Regions from separate parts of the Homo sapiens genome. Here region 2 is linked to region 1. Evidence: promoter capture Hi-C in 16 types of primary human blood cells and fetal thymus (Javierre and others, 2016). All regions are on one chromosome and are shown on one strand. The core of a region is centred on a gene start or on the middle of the fragment in contact, and the rest is flanking DNA. Distances in the headings are between cores, read along the strand shown. Region 1 holds the start of FOXO3 (forkhead box O3). Region 2 holds the start of CDK19 (cyclin dependent kinase 19).

What was found. Contacts are between HindIII fragments. The CHiCAGO score rates a contact against its expected background, and 5 or more counts as called.
Region 2: the fragment with the promoter of CDK19 here is called in contact with the fragment with the promoter of FOXO3 in region 1 in 1 of 17 cell types (non-activated CD4 T cells); the score reaches 6.1 in non-activated CD4 T cells.

What each region holds. Positions count from the first base shown.
Region 1 is chr6:108,559,577-108,563,600 of GRCh38, forward strand. FOXO3 (forkhead box O3) reads left to right here and starts at 1,341. Exons shown (of 3, transcript NM_001455.4): 1 at 1,341-2,253. The coding sequence starts at 1,633. RefSeq lists silencers at 1-65, 106-175, 1,155-1,374 and enhancers at 1,818-2,318, 3,130-3,424. The HindIII fragment of the contact is 5,662 bases long and covers 1-2,462 here.
Region 2 is chr6:110,812,633-110,816,767 of GRCh38, forward strand. CDK19 (cyclin dependent kinase 19) reads right to left here and starts at 2,837. Exons shown (of 13, transcript NM_015076.5): 1 at 2,377-2,837. The coding sequence starts at 2,504. It also overlaps a transcript of AMD1 not described here. RefSeq lists enhancers at 1,588-1,697, 1,932-2,484, 3,058-3,137 and a silencer at 2,108-2,417. The HindIII fragment of the contact is 5,084 bases long and covers 484-4,135 here.

The DNA.
Region 1 (4,024 bases), core at 91-2,590:
GGGAGCCCGCCGAGTCCCGGCCCACGGCGCGCGCCCGGACACCCACGCCCGCAGCCCCGCGGAGCCGGGCCGCGCAGGCGCGCGCGAGCTCACACACGCGCACTCACACACGCACGCCCGCCGCGCGCCCGGCCCGCCGCCCAGCCCGCCGCCCAGCCCTCCCCCTGGGCGGGGACCCGCCCGCCGTCAGCCTAGGTTGAGGCGCCCTGCGTGTGTCTATAACTTTGTGCTGCTGCCGCGGCCGCCCTGCTCGTGGAAGGGAGGAGGAGGAATGTGGAAGGTGGCGGCGCGCGAGCTGACAGGCGGTTCCTCGGGCGGGCTGCGGCGACGGCCCGAGCGCTTCTCCTTCGCCGAGGTTGCGCGCCCCCTCCTCGCCGTGCCCCGGGCCCGCGCGGGATCGTGCGTCGTCCCGCCGCGTCCCTGAAGGGAAGGAAGCGAGGTAGGCGCCGGAGCCGTGCAGCGGGCGGCCGCCTTCCCGGTGACTCCGGATCTGCTTCCGAGCTGGGCCGGGCGCTTCCCTTTCCCCTCCCTGAGCCGCGGTGTGCGCGCCCCCCTTCTCGCCCGCTAGTGTTTTTAAAGGACTCGGGAAGGGGGAAACTGTCAAGATGGCAGCAGCGGGAGCAAGGAGGTGATGAACGTGCTGGTCCGGGTTTTCTAGCAGCCCGGGAGACTTGGCGCTTCCCGACCTGTTGGAAGATTTATGTTCCGACTCGCTCCCTCCCCCGGATCCCGACTGGGAAGGGGGCGGAGGGGACGACGTCCGCGAGAATGCAAACCACACAAAACCCCGAAGTGGCCGTCCCCGCCGGGCTCGAACCTCTGCGAACACCCGCTGGGCTGCTGCTCCCCCTTCTTTCTGTCTTTCCTTTATTTTTTGGAAGTGACAAGGGCCCATCTGCGCCCAGACCCCCGTTCGCCCTCTGGCCCGCGGGCGAAGAGGGGAGAGGGAGCTGCCCGCGCAGTCCCCGGGCTCGGGCCATTCGACCGGGTGGGGGGTGACGGGGGGTCGCGGAGGCGGCCAGGCTAGGAAAGGGGAGAAGAGCCGAAGACAGCACAGACTTGAGCGGCGGCGCCGCGGGAGGCACTAGAGCGGGCCCGAGCGAAACATAAACAAACGCACGCACACCCGAGCTCGGGCTCTGACCGCGGCTCGGCTGCGCCAGCTCCGGCCGCTGCCCGCTTTAAAGGCGCGGCCGCCCCTCCCCCGGGCGCCCCTCCCCCTTCTCCCCGCCCCGCCGCCTAGCCCGGGAGGGACCTGCGGCTGGGCGGCGGGGGGAGGGGGCTGCCCCGCGCGAGGCCGTCGATTCGCTCGCGGCTCCATCGCGGCCTGGCCGGGGGGCGGTGTCTGCTGCGCCAGGTTCGCTGGCCGCACGTCTTCAGGTCCTCCTGTTCCTGGGAGGCGGGCGCGGCAGGACTGGGAGGTGGCGGCAGCGGGCGAGGACTCGCCGAGGACGGGGCTCCGGCCCGGGATAACCAACTCTCCTTCTCTCTTCTTTGGTGCTTCCCCAGGCGGCGGCGGCGGCGCCCGGGAGCCGGAGCCTTCGCGGCGTCCACGTCCCTCCCCCGCTGCACCCCGCCCCGGCGCGAGAGGAGAGCGCGAGAGCCCCAGCCGCGGGCGGGCGGGCGGCGAAGATGGCAGAGGCACCGGCTTCCCCGGCCCCGCTCTCTCCGCTCGAAGTGGAGCTGGACCCGGAGTTCGAGCCCCAGAGCCGTCCGCGATCCTGTACGTGGCCCCTGCAAAGGCCGGAGCTCCAAGCGAGCCCTGCCAAGCCCTCGGGGGAGACGGCCGCCGACTCCATGATCCCCGAGGAGGAGGACGATGAAGACGACGAGGACGGCGGGGGACGGGCCGGCTCGGCCATGGCGATCGGCGGCGGCGGCGGGAGCGGCACGCTGGGCTCCGGGCTGCTCCTTGAGGACTCGGCCCGGGTGCTGGCACCCGGAGGGCAAGACCCCGGGTCTGGGCCAGCCACCGCGGCGGGCGGGCTGAGCGGGGGTACACAGGCGCTGCTGCAGCCTCAGCAACCGCTGCCACCGCCGCAGCCGGGGGCGGCTGGGGGCTCCGGGCAGCCGAGGAAATGTTCGTCGCGGCGGAACGCCTGGGGAAACCTGTCCTACGCGGACCTGATCACCCGCGCCATCGAGAGCTCCCCGGACAAACGGCTCACTCTGTCCCAGATCTACGAGTGGATGGTGCGTTGCGTGCCCTACTTCAAGGATAAGGGCGACAGCAACAGCTCTGCCGGCTGGAAGGTGCGTACCCACCCCGGGCTGGCAGCAGGACCCGCCGGGCCTCCTGCGCAGCGCGAGACGCGTCTCGGATTCGTCGGAGTGCGCTTGCGGGCTCCAGGGCAAGGGGTTGGCAGGGGGAGCCTCCGCTGCGAGGCTTTGGGGGTTATCTTTGATCCCCGGAGTCGGGGCACCTGGGGACGGTCTCGGAGGGGTGAATGAGGCTCCCCAGAAGCTTGGGGCATGGCCAGGTGAGGAGAGGGGGCAGGGGACGCCGGCGAGGGAAGGGCGAACGGACAGGAGTACATTTGCTGGATTCTCCGGACAGCACCGAGGAGGTAGGTCCGCAGCCAACTTTGGAGTAGAGTTTACCGTAGTGGGGGTCTGGTGCGGGCGCTGTGGCTGGAGTGAGAGGTGTGGGGGTGTTTGGGACGCAGTGTCTGGAGGAGGGGTTGGATGTGTGGTTTCCAGTCTGTCGCAGGAGCATGTTGCGTCGTCACTAGCTGAATGAGAACCTTCGGGTCCAAGTTTCAGCTTGTGGGTGTTAACACCTACAGGCACATCGATCCGATTAGAAAAAGCAGTGGTTGCAAACCTTTTCCTGGACGGCTTCCTTTCCTTGCCTATATTGATACCTTTTCTTCTCGGAGATGTCGCTCCAGTAAACCTGCTTCTGACTAGCTGCTTCTGAAATGTTCTGGGGCCTCGAACCGGCCGGTCTGGCCACCTCAATCCAGACTGGCTGCACCCGCTGCTCCCGCCGAGGCCTGGATTCAGGCACTGTTTGAGGGAAGGGCTCTGGTGTGGGGGACGCGGGGCCTGCGCTTCATTCACTCTGGCGTTTGGGAGGAGGTTTGGGGGCTGGGCCGGGCCGTAATGGCTTCTACCTGTAAATGAACCCGAAGAGAGACTCTCTACCGTTCCTTATCATCCTCTTGGGGCACGGGACACGTGGTAGGGAGAGAGGTGTGGAAAGGCCTATGATGTAATGACTTCCTGCAGTTGGGTATCCAAAGAGATTAACTCCTCTGCCCCTGCTGGGCTGCTGATATCCAGCTGCTTTCCTCTTCCTAGGCACCTCCCTGGCCCCTTCCCCCAAGACAGTGTGTGTCAGTACCAGGCCAAAGAGTCCTGTGCGATTGGAGATATACATCTCTTATCAGCTGCCCATATTTGCAATTTAGCTTAGATTTTTTTTTGTTTTGTTTTATGTAAAAGAAGTAGTTGCTTCCTCCTTCCCTTTCTTCATTGTCATTGGGGAGCCCTCTGTCTTCCTGGGTTTCAGGAGGTATAAAAATAAGAACAGTTTAATCTTAGTGGAGAATTCAATGGAAGCACTGGAGACGAGCCTGTAGATGAAAAAGTTAAAGAACTTAATGTAGAGAATGTTTTATTTTGCTTCTAGAAAACCCTTGCAAAGTTAAATACGGCTTATATCAGAGAGGCTTTGTATTAGATACTTTAAAAGCAAAACACGTGTGCTTTGATATTAATCCACTAATGTGTCTCATTTCTTTTAACAAATGCTTACATTATGAGTCTTATATTTGGTTTAATTCAATTGCTTTGTAAAAGAATGCCAGGTGTATGATACGAGAGTTCTTTACAGAAAGGATGAAAGTTAGACAATTCCATTTGAAAAGAGCACTAGTGTGATATGTTTTAAAACTGGGTTTCCAAGTGGATGGGAAGGGTTAATCAGTGTATAGTATCAGGAAGGCGTAAGCGGACAGGATCTGAGAACATGGATTTGGGGGTTCGAAATGTTTTTCAGATTTCTCTCACTTGAAATTTA
Region 2 (4,135 bases), core at 1,587-4,086, 2.3 Mb after region 1:
ATTATATATACCAGAATCATTTATCTTTAATGTAACCTATGTGATTTCTGGCTCCCTAAAATAGCATTATGCATTTTCTGAGTTAACCAAAATAAAATCTAGAAAGAGCTAAACTGTAATCTACCATGATCGGAGTGTAAAATCCTTTACTATGCAAATCTGCCCACTGTTTAAAACAGTAAAAAAAAAAAAAAAAAAAAATTTAACATGAACCCAAAGGACACAGATGTTCTTTCAAATTGCTGGTATCAATGAACATAAAATTAATCCCACTACCAACCCACAAGAGACGTGGGTGTTTACTGTAAAGTTGCAAATCTCAACCAGATCTTTCATCCAGGAAAAAAGCCTTTATTACGGTTTTTCTTATACGTAATACAGTGATTTAAACTAATGCTTTCAGATCCTGAGAGGTTTTTTTTTTTTTTAGAAAAAAAGCATTATATTTTGAAGACACACAAACTAATCTTACTCTAGTAAAGAAGCTTTATTAATTCTAATTAACAAATTTCACTCAAAAAGGAAGTGTATTCGAATCAAGTACTTTATTAGAGGGGAAAAATATTCAAAAAGAATAGAAGCAAGAATTATCTGGTTTTTGTTGTAAGCCCATACTATTCAAATACAATTCAGAAGCAGAATTTTTAACTTCTCAAAAGTTCCCTAATAAAAGAAAGCTATTTTAACAAAAAAAACACTAAGATACATTTTTTAAAACCAAAAGTATACCACAAAGTTAGCATGAGGAGTATGGGAAAAACCCACCTCAGATTTATTAACAATGTCCAAACGGAAAACTGGATGTGCTTTCCCCAAATATAACTGATAAAATTCCCACAAGAACACTAGTATAACAGGTGGAGTGGATATTCCAAAACCAAAATATGTTAATTATAGTATCTCACATTCCATGATAAGCATTCAAGGACACCTGGTAATTAAAGGAATTATGAGAAACAACTGAGTACCTTAAGGCCTGTTCAGTTACAAAAGAAAAAAAAAATTCTGCAATAATAATAATCCTTTACACTTGGATAGCACTTTGCAATTTTCACGATACCTTATGACAAAACACTTTATAATAGAGTTGTTTTATGAAGTTAGTGCATACGCACACAACGTACTTTAGTCCTAGAGTTCATATACCAACCACATCAAATTATAACAGCACGCACAAAGATAAGCGGCACTTCAAATTTTACTAATGTCATTGTGGCTGATCATCACTTTATTCAGAAATGGTCCGTTACAATCCTCTTCCGTAGAGTTTGACTCTCTTTAAAGTCTATGCTGGACAGGGCATCTTCCTGGGTCCCTAGCTTTGGGGGAGGGTAATTCCTGCCAGGAAGCTGGTTCCACCAGTCCTGCTGTAGCTGCTGTCTGCCCTCCAGGACCAAGAAAGGACAGGTATTCTCAGTACATTATCCAGCTCTTCTTAAGAGGACAACCAGTAAAGGCTTCCCAAGGTGTTCCTACAGTTCTCCCTCAACTCCTAGGAAAACAAAGGTTCAGGCCCAGCTCTGTCACTTCGTATTCCGTTCTTGATAATATAGGTACTCCATAAGCCCCAGCCCACAGTCATCTGGCAGAGGATGGAGTGGAGGACATAATACCCAAGATACCCAAGGGGCTGCAAGGTAAAGGGTGGGTAGCAGAGAATTCAGCCAACTCTTAAGTTGCCGCTTGCGAAACGCAGCTAGCCCATCAGGTCTCCTTCGAAGGGGGAAGGTACGCAATTCAGAATGTGAGAATGAGAAACCCGGGACGCCGGGCATACAACAGGGATGGGAGGACTGCATAGAGAAGCCAACGGGCCGGCCAGCCCGAAGGGCGGAGATCGCTGCTGGGGGCGGCGGTGCCCAGCGGGTCAGAGCCGTGGGGCTGGCGAGGACCCCAGGCCGCGTTCGCCCGACAGGCTCCCCGGCGAGGTTTCAAACCGCCGCCCCCGCGAGGCGCTCAGCCGATTGGAAGTTCCACAACGACCGTCACTACCCAGGGCCGGAGCGGCAACTCCGCAGCGGAGCTCTGCCTGCCCGCTGCGTTCCCCCAAGAGACTAGACCCCACAAACTCCTCCTCCACCGCGGTCCCAACTCGAGTCCCCCCGCCGTCTCCGAGCACTCGGAGGGCGCCCCTCTGGGACGGGACCGACGCCTCGGACCGGGCTGCGCCGCGGGAGTTCGAGGTACGCGACGGGGCCGCGCGGGGGAGGCGGGCGGAACGGGCGCCCCTCGGAGTCGGTGTCCGGACGCAACCCCGCGACCCCCTCCGCCTCGCCCCTCGGGCACGGCCCGACTGGGATCCGACCCACCCATCCCGCCAGGTCGCGGGCAGGGCGAGGACCCGAGCGAGCCTACTCCTCCCGCCCCTGCTCTTACCCATCTTTCCGCCTCGCCTTGTAGACGTGACCGTAGGTGCCGCGTCCCACTTTGCACCCTTCGTACTCAAACAAATCCTCCACCCGCTCCCGCTCCGCCGCCAGCTTCGCCTTGAAATCATAATCCATTGTCTGCTTCCCCCATAGAGGCACGGGACGCGGGGGCCGCCGCCGCTCAGTCCCTCCTCCTCCTCCCCCCGCGACCGCCGCTCCACTTCTCCAACAGCCGCCTCTCGCGCGCGCGCGCGCGCCGCCCGCCGCCCGCCGCTCCGCGGTCCGCCTTCAGCAAGGGACTCCTCGGCGGCCACAGCAGCCACCTCCTCCACCTCTTCCTCCTCCTCCTCCGCGACGGCGGCGGCGGCTCCCGCAGGCACCCCCAGTCCCGCCTCCCTCCTTCATTTCCTTGTTTTGGAACCTGGTGGGCCGCGCCGTGGCTTCCTCGAGCTCATTAGCGAACTCACTGGCCCGCCCCATGGTCGCGGAGGCTCCTGGGAAATGAAGTCGCGAAGGCCTCAGCGGCCTGGGCGGTTTTGCCGGCGTAAGAAATACAGCTCCCAGGTTACCTCGGGCCACCACAGCCTCGCCCCCACAAAGCATGCGCGCCTGCGTACCAGGGCCGCCCCTCCCCCTCAGGTAGCGCACGGCTCCCGGTTCCTGTGAAGGTAGAAAGCTCGAAGTTCCAGTGTGCTTTCTGCGGTTCTCGGGGAGACACTGGAAAGAAGTGCCTTACTCTAGTGGGAAGGGGATACTTCACTGTAACTAGCCCCACGCAGAGAGTATGGAAAGCATTAAATCAGCACCTTGCTGAAGGGTTGGCTGCAGTGACTCGGGAGGCGAGGGCTGGTGAGGACAGTTGTACCGCAGCTTGTTTCTTTTCTAGGGCAGTGGGTCCGCCTATTGCCCCGCCCCCCGTCCCGCTGCTCATTGGCGGGGGCTGGAGAATGACGTCCTCGTTGGTGCGTGGGTATCCCCAGGCTTTGGCTTCTTTCCCGCTCTTGATTGGTGATTGGATGTGCTCGGTTCTTCCTGATAGGTTGATCTTTTTTCTTTACGATGCAAAAACCGTATTTCAAAAACTGAACCTTCAGCAGTTTCCTAGAGCCTGCCTTGGCCAGAGGAGAACATGCAACTTCTGAGCCCCAGCAGCCAATCATCATTTTCTTGGCGCTGTAGTCAGCTTTCTCTTAGCATATGCGGTTCCCATAACCAGGCTTTGGCCATCTGTCTAAGGACAATTAAAAGTGCCTGGAGGAAGCCGCGTTTACGATCCTTTGGGTTGAATTGTAAAGGATTTTTTATGGTCTATGCATGATGTGAGGTTCTAGAATGTTTAAGAAAGCCCCTTTAGTTAGGGTGAACGTTGATTGATTTCATTGTGTTGGGGCTCAGGACACACTACCCCAAATTATAACTGAAGGAGTCCAGAATATGCCACCCCAAAATACGCCACTCTGGCATATTGATGTCTTTTAGCAAAATAAATTAAGATCCAGCCAACACAGGAAAATGCTTCACTTATCCCACTACTGCCTAAAATAAAGAATAACTCTTCCTTTGTAAAGAGAAATTTACATTTCTAAAGGAAATTTTCGTAATTAAAGGAATCTTACCAGAAAGAGAGCTGCTGCTAGTCAACTTGTATCATCTGAGATACTTTTATCTGCATAAAAGTCAACCTTTATTCACCTTAGACATTTTTTCCTCTTATCCTCTCTTAACTTGTCTCCACCACTCCTGGAAGCCCCAAACCCCACTTTTGT